Regions from separate parts of the Homo sapiens genome. Here region 2 is linked to region 1. The links are contacts of gene promoters, found by promoter capture Hi-C in blood cells and fetal thymus (Javierre and others, 2016). All regions are on one chromosome and are shown on one strand. Each heading gives the region's core, a stretch centred on a gene start or on the middle of the fragment in contact. The rest is flanking DNA. Distances are from core to core; before and after follow the strand shown. Region 1 holds the start of DORIP1 (dopamine receptor interacting protein 1). Region 2 overlaps LRFN5 (leucine rich repeat and fibronectin type III domain containing 5).

The links. The method cuts DNA at HindIII sites, captures the fragments that hold promoters and counts their contacts. A CHiCAGO score of 5 or more calls a contact.
Region 2: a fragment that was not itself captured here is called in contact with the fragment with the promoter of DORIP1 in region 1 in 2 of 17 cell types (naive CD8 T cells and naive CD4 T cells); the score reaches 6.3 in naive CD8 T cells.

The regions. Positions count from the first base shown.
Region 1 is chr14:44,894,928-44,898,959 of GRCh38, reverse strand. DORIP1 (dopamine receptor interacting protein 1) reads right to left here and starts at 1,685. Exons shown (of 5, transcript NM_001017923.2): 1 at 1,392-1,685. LOC101927418 (a long non-coding RNA gene) reads left to right here. Exons shown (of 3, transcript NR_110050.1): 3 at 1-52. RefSeq lists silencers at 1,031-1,350, 1,371-1,500 and enhancers at 867-1,366, 1,991-2,040. The HindIII fragment of the contact is 3,873 bases long and covers 1-2,026 here.
Region 2 is chr14:41,739,370-41,743,401 of GRCh38, reverse strand. All of the region lies in intron 1 of LRFN5 (leucine rich repeat and fibronectin type III domain containing 5), which reads right to left. It also overlaps the pseudogene FKBP1BP1. Among named protein-coding and RNA genes, the nearest start is that of LRFN5, 130 kb to the right of the region's middle. The HindIII fragment of the contact is 995 bases long and covers 1,789-2,783 here.

The sequences.
Region 1 (4,032 bases), core at 436-2,935:
CCTCCCAAACACAACATGAACTCAACACTTAATAAAGCTGCAGTCCTACGTGTTTTATTTGTGTAAGAAACTAAGTCCAAAACATTCTGCAACGCGAGTAAAAATTCACTTCTGCAATATATTAAACACACATGAACACAGTGTTTTCAGTTTGAAGCAAGATACTGTGGACTCTAAAATATCCAGTAACTATATTTAGTATGAAGAGTGGATGTTTATATCTAGTTGGCCAACACATTGATTCTAGTCATCCACTTAGGAAGAAGAGGGTGTGGCAAATCTGCAGCCTAGGAAAACACAAACTCAGTTTCTTCGTAATAGATACTGATTCGTTTTGTTTACAAAGATTTTAAAAAACAGTTATGCATTCAAATACTTTAAAAACGAAAATAACTTTATGGTTTGATTTATTTCCGTTGAATTTTAAAGAACTTTGTAGCAAGGTTTAAGATTGCTTAAAGAGCCTGAGTTCGGATTCCTAAAATAGTGCATTGGGAAGGAAGCATAAATCTCTAGGATATTTTCTTCACATTATCTTCAGACATGACCAAATGAAGTGTAACTACCCTTACACTCTAAGAGAATTAAACTATAATGACATATGTGGCATGAAACTTTAGTCTTTCTCTGGAAAAAACGGGAGGAGGGAAGGTTTGGAAGAACTAGAGGATACTAGTTTCATCATGAATTTGGTGATTTGTTCCAAAGTAAATTGCAATAAAAATGAGGGGTGGGGAAAAATGATGGAAAGATAGCTGTGAAGAGCTTTACTTAAAATTGTCTTAGCTGTTTAGCTAGGAACTGTAATTAGAAGGACTGGAGGATGTATTCCGCTGGCTTTATTCTCCAGGCTCTACGGGCCCTCCAATTTGAATAAACCTGGAAAACTCTCCTGACCTCTATTTCTTTGACAAAACATCTTTCTTTCGTGGTGACTTCCAAGGGAGGAAATTGGTACCCCAAGCTAGCCGTGAGGACCCCACCACATGCCCAAGGCATTGAACGCCAGACTCCCTAAGGACTCAGGGATTCTAAAAGTCCCCTCTCAAATCAGCGCCTAAAATACGCCTGTACAGCCACGCGCTACCGCTCCCAGCAGCGCGGGACTTCGGGACAGGGACAAGGCGGACGCTAGGCGTGCGCCCCCGGGGAGCCCCCACGTTCCGGCCACGCCCACCCTGGCCCTGGGCAGCCGCGCCCGGGAGGCCTGGCACCGAGGCGGGCGGGTCCCCGAGTTAGGGGCCCGCGAGTCGGCTGGGCGCCCCCGCCTCTGCCCGGGCAGTGCCCCGCCGAGTGCTCAGAACTGCGGACAAATAGGCTGGAGGGCCGGGCCGCGGAAGGCGTTCCCACACCGGCCAGTCTCCGTCCACCAGGAAGCAAACTCCTCGTACCTCCCTGGGGACCGAAAACTGCCGGTGCCGCCGCACCCGTCGCCGCCGCCGCCTGCTCATGGAGAGCCCGGGCTGCCGCCGCCGCCGCCGCCGCCGCTGCCTCATCTATGAGTACCGCCGGCTGTCTCGGCCTCCCCCGGCGTGAGTTCTGGGCTCTGGCATGGCCTCCATGGCAGCCGCCGCGGCGGGAGCCACAGCAGCTCCAGCGCCCAGGCCCAATCTCACTGGACCCACGGAGCCAGGACAGTGGGACACGTCGCTTCTTATTACGGAGGAAGATTCGGCACGACCTCCGCCCCCCTCCCCCCAACCCCCCCGTTTTCAGCCGCCTGACAGCGCAGCTGCGCAGGCGCGAAGACGCCCCAGCCTAATGTGCGTGTGTCGGCTGTGTATACAGCATCCAGATTCGCCCAATGGGAACCAGGATCAGGTGTGGGGGGCGGGACCTCGCAGAGAGGGGCGGGGTTCCACTGGTAGAAGGTGGGTGGGGAAGCCGGAAGTGGGCAGAGTTTGCACGGAGGCGGAGCTTTATTGGCAAACCTGATTGGCTTTTTGAGGTTTGTACCATTTTAGGACTTGATTTTAGTTTGCTTCTGGGTCTTGTTTTCTCAAATTCTTAACCTAGAAAGAAAGCTTTGTTTTCTCAGTAAATTACGGTTTTTTAAGCGTTTAAGTATTTACTTAGAAAACAGTTGAATTGATCTGTTAAATGCCAGCTTTAGTGTTCAAGTTAATTATTGGCCAATATACTGTAACTTACAGTGGAAGTTAACCCCATTTTGAAAAATTAGATTGTTTTAATTCCATTGTGAAGTTGAAAAAATTGGGTTTTGGAGATAATAAGGTCCCACACAGCAAGTGACGGAGCTGGAAATTACAGTTAGGACAACTTAATGCTAGTTTGTGGGCTCAACCACTATTTCTGTTTATTAGGGCCGAGTTTTTGTATCTCCCGTAAAGAAGCAAGGCCCTGTATGGCTCTGCATCTGGAGAACACAGGCCACCCTGCAAAAACTACCTCTCCTTGCAAGTAGGCATGGAGATCTGGTTGAGATTTTCCCCATCCAGCCTTTCAACAAATAATGAGGGTCTGGAAAGTTAGCTCTAACGTTCAGAACACGTGAGGGCTAATGAGAGAGCTCAAGGCTATCCTAGTAAATCAGTGTGGTTTTCCGTCACAGGCTGAGCCTGGGAGAGGCTGGATGCCTTCTTGACCGGTGTGATGGTCGGCCAAAGCTATGGAGGGGAACTTCCTCATGGATCTCTCTAAAAAAGTCTAGAAATGGAAGAGAGACTTCCATTTCTTGAGTTTTGGCTCTGCCCAAAAAAGAATAATTAATAGCTCTGGCAAAGCCTGCTCTTTTTAGTTTCCTGTTTTTTCTTATTTCTTATGGTATTTTATAGATGAGGAAACTGAGGCTCTTAGAGATAAACTAGTGTGTTGGAAAACTTGCAAAAAGTTCACTCTCAATATTAATCCTCTCCTACAGGTAGAAAAGCCCTTTAAAAATGTTTGTAAATGTGGATTATGTGTTTAATTATAAATCTCTCACAAGACATGGAGTTCATTTTATACTGATTAGGTCATTCTCTTCCTGAAAACAGCCATAGTATGGTGGATGACACCATTTCTGGAGAATAGTATTGAGATTGCTCATTAAACTCTGCCGAGTCTCAGCTAGATGGAGGAAGCATGGATTCCTTGAATACTTGGATAACTCACAAACATCACTGAGGCCTTTAACTGAAATTTCCATTCTGCATCTTTTCCACCGTCTTCAAAATCTGACATCTGAGTTGTAGGGTTTTTTTAGATATATTTACTGAAGTATAATTGGCATAGAATATATAGAGCATACTTAAAGTGTATAATTTTTATCAGTTTTGACATATGTATAACCCCTTAAACCATCACTGTGATCAAATGAGTATGCCCATCACACTTAAGTTTCTGCTTACCTACCGCCCCCCAACTCTGCCTTTTTTTTTTTTTTTTTTTTTTTTTTTTTTCAGAATCCTGATCTGTTACCCAGGCTGGAGTGCAGTGAATGATCTCGGCTTATTGCAACTTCCGCCTCCCAGGATCAAGAGTTTCTGGTATCTCAGCTTTCCGAGTAGCTGGGATTATAGACGTGCACCACCATGCCTAGCTAATTTTTGTATTTTTAGTAGAGGCAGAGTTTCACCATGTTGGCCAGGCTGGTCTCAAACTCCTGGCCTCAGGTGATCTGCCCACCTCGGCCTCCCAAAGTGCTGGGATTACAGGCGTGAGCCACCACACCTGGCCCTCATTCTCTTAGCAGTGTATTTTGAAGAGAAGTTTTAACTTTTAATAAAGTTTAATTTATTTATTATTTTATGGATTACATTTCTAGTGTTGTTTCTAAGAAATTTTTGCCTACCCCAAGCTCACAAAGAAATTTTCCTATGTTTTCTTATAAAAGTTTTATGTGTTCAAGCTGTACATTTAGATGTATGATGCATTGTAGTTAACTTTCTTATATAGTTTGAGGCATGTATCCAAGTTCATATTTGATGTATGGATACCCAGTCATCGCAGCAATTTTTTTTTTGAAAAGCCTGTACTTTTTCCACTGGGTTGCTTTTGTGCTTTTGTCAAAAATTAGTTGCGCAGCTTGGG
Region 2 (4,032 bases), core at 1,037-3,536, 3.2 Mb after region 1:
GTTTAAGTGAGCAGCCAACAGAATTTATAAGATAGAAAGTGAAAGCAAAGGTAACTGGCTCAAGTCTCTAGCATACACCATGTATATTTCATATCTGATCACCTTGCATGTCTGGCTTAAGTGAAGGTAGGGCGATGTAGATTTTGCAAGCAAGAAATCTATTTTCTGTGACCAGGAATGGCTACTACATGCCTTATAAAAAAATGCACAACATGAAATGTTTCAATGAAATCAAAATTTCCTCAAGCAAGGATATGCATGAACAATAATGAACACATACACAGCAACTTGGGCAGAAAGAATGGATCATGCCATGAGACAGTGAGGTTAGCACACTGATCAAGAGCCCCAAACAGGAGGAGCCAACCCAGTGGCAAAGCAGGCTAGGAGGGTGAGCAGCAGCCATCTCCATCCACCTTGATTTCCTTCCTGCCTTCACTCTAAGTTGAGCAATTCCATGTCAAAGATAGGATAGCACTGGGAGGGATGATACTAGAGTAGCCTGGAGCTCTATATGACACATCACATATGCAGGTCAGCTTCACCTTCTGCCCCAAGCTCATCTGCGCTATGTACTCTTCAAAACCACTGATGACTTCCTGTTCACCAGTTTTGAACTTGAAAGGTTTGTTTCTGTCTTCGGATAAATCAAATTTATTCCCATTTTGGAACACCCCTATGTAGTGCGCTACACACACCTGGCTCTTCTGGCTCTTGTTGGTGAATGTCCTTCTTGACCCATCATGGCCCCATAAGCCCCATCCACGGGAATTGCTGATGTTGCCCCAAACCCAGTTTGGCTCCCGCCCCAGTCACATAGTCGCTCCAACGTATCTTCCTGTCACAACTGCAGAGATGAAAGAAGTGCAGCTGAAGTTGGGACCTAAGTCAGTAGGTAGGATGATATCAAGTTTTTTAGATATTACATATAAGTTAGATCATAAACTATTTGTCTTTCTATGACTGGCTGAATTCACTTAGTATAAATTCCTCCAGTTCCAGCCATGTTGTGAATGAAAAAAATTTCCTTATTTTTATGGCTGTATATTATTCTAGTGTGTGTGTGTGTGTGTGTGTGTGTGTGTGTGTATACACACCACATTTTCTTCATTAATCTTTTAATAAAACCAGGTTGCTTCTATTGCTTCTATATCTTGGCTACTGTGACTAATTCTGAAATAAACATGAAAGTACAGGTATCTCGTTCACATGCTGATTTCAGATTCATTGGCTATATATCCAAAAGTAACATTTTTGGGGTCATATGGAATCTACTTTTAGTTCTTGGAAAATCTCCATACTATTTTGCAAAATGATTGTATTAATTTACATTGGCCCCAACAGTGTACAAAGGGTCCATTTCTTGCCAACACTTGTTATCTCACCAACACTTATCAATTTTTGTAATAGCCATTTTAATGGGTGTGAGGTGATATCTCATTGTGGTTTCAATTTTCATTTCCCTGATGATTAGAGACATTGAGGATTTTTTCATATATCTGTTGGTCATTCACATGTCTTCTTTGGAGAAATATCTGTTCAGATTCTTTGTCTATTACTAAATTAGTTTTTTGGTTTTTTTTTTTTATTTTAGCCCCTTACCATATGTATGGTTTAAAAATATTTTACCTAAATTTGTGGGCTATCTCTCCACTATGTAAATTGTTGTCTTTGCTGCATCAAAGCTTTTTAGTTAGATGCAATATCCTCTGTCTATTTTTGCTTTTCTTATCTGTGCTTTTGAAGTTCCATCCCAGAAATCCTTGCCCAGACCAAAATTATGAAGCTTTTACCCTACATTTTCTTCTAGTAGATTTATTGATTCAGTCTTTCATATTGGTCTTTTGTCCGTTTTGAATTAATTCTCATATATGGTGTGTCAGAAAGATCCAATTTCATGCTTCTGAATGTGGATATAAAGTTTTGTCAACACCATTTATTGAAGTGATTGTCTTTTCTTCATTGTGTTTATCTTTGTGGAAAATCAATTGACCTTAAATAGTCAGGTTTGCTTCTGTGCTTTCTATTCTTTTCCATTCATCAATATATCTTCTTTCATGCCAGTATCATGCTGTTTTGACTACAATTGCTTTATAATCTATTTTGAAATCAGGAAATTTGATACCTCCTACTTCATTCTTTTTGCTCAATTGCTTCAGCTATTCAAGGATTTTTTTCTATTAGACTTTTATTCTATTTCTGTGAAAAACAAATTGGAATTCTGATAGAGATTGCATTGAATCTGCAGGTTGCTTTGAGTACTATGTATGTTTTTAAAATAGTAAATTTTTCAACCTATGAACATGAGTTATCTTTATATTGTGTGTTTTTCAACTTCTTTCACCTATTATAGTTTTCATCATAGTCAATCATTCACCTCTTCAGTTAAATGTATTCCTAAATATTTAATTTTATTTTTGGATGCTATTGTAAATGGAATTATTTTCTTGATTTCTTTTTGGATAGTTTGTTGTTAGTTTATAGAAATAGTACTCTTTTTTAAATTTTGTTTTCATAAACTACAACTTTATTAAATGTACTAATCAGTTCTAATAGGTCTTTGATAAAGCCTTTAGGGTTTTCTACAATAAAAATCACCTCATTGGCAAACCTGATGCCAATTTCAATTTGCACTGACAATTTCACTTCTTTTTTTCCTTTATGGAGGCCTTTTATTTCTTTTTTCTAATCTAGTTGTTCTAGCTAGGACTTCCAATACTATAATGAATAGAAGTGATGACAGTGAGCATCCTTTTCTATTTCCTAATCTTAGAAGAAAAGCTTTCAACTTTTCACTGTTTAATATGATATTAACTGTGGGCTTGTAATATATGTATTTTATTATGTTCAGGTACATTATTTCAATACCTATTTGTTGAGAGCTTTTATCATGATCAGATGTTAAATGTAGTCAAATGTTTTTTCTGTATCTATTGAGAAAATGTTTTTTTCTGTATCATATGATTTTCTTCTTCATTTTGTTAATATAGTGTAACTCATTTATTGATTTATGTGCATTGAGCCATCCTTTCTCTTGTGGAATAAATCTCATTTTATCAAAGTTAATAAATATTTTATGTGCTTCTGAATTTGGTTTGCTAGTTTTCTTGAGGATTTTTGCTCCATATTTATCAGGGATTTTGGCCTGTTGTTTTCTTTTCTTGTAGTGTCCTTGTATGGTTTTAATATTAGGGTAAAGTTTGCCTTGTAAAATAAATTTTGAAGTATTCCCTCCATTTCAGTTTTCTGGATAATCTTGAGAAGGACTGATATTAGTTATTTAAATGTTTGGTAGAATTGGCAGTGAGGCTATCATGCCCTGGGCTTTATTTTTATTTTTGAAAGTTTTTTATTGTTGATTCAATCTCCTTACTTATTACAAGTCTGTTCAGATTTTTCTATTTCTTTTTTATTTGTCATGGTACATTACATGTTTCTAGGAATTTTATTTTTTCTGTGTTATTCATTTTTTATTATATAGTTGTCCATGATAGTCTTTAGGTCCCTTGCATTTCTGTGGTATCAGTTATGATTCCTTCCATTTGGATTTTATTTGAGTCTTCTTTCTCTTTGTCCTTGTTAGTCTAGCTAATGGTTTGTCAATTTTATCTTTTGAAAAAACCCCAATTTTACTTTCATTTATATTTTCTACTGTTTTTCTAGTCTCTATTTTGCTTATTTCTGCTCCGATCTTTGTTATTTACTTCCTTCCACTACGTTTGTGCTTAGTTTGTTTTTTTTTTTCTAGTTGCTAGAGGTATAACATTAGGTTGTTTGAAATCTTTCTTCTTCTTTGATGTAGGTGTTTATTGTTATAAAATTCCCTCTAAGGATTGTTTTTGCTGTATCCCATAAGTTTTGGTATATTGTGTTTCCATTTTTCCTTGTCTCAAGATTTTTTTTTCTTTTAATTTATCCTTTGTCCTATGTGTCATTAAGAAGGATATTTAATTTCCACATATTTGTGAGTTCTTCAAGATGATGATGATGATGATGATGATGATGATGATGATGATTGACACAATGTCTGGC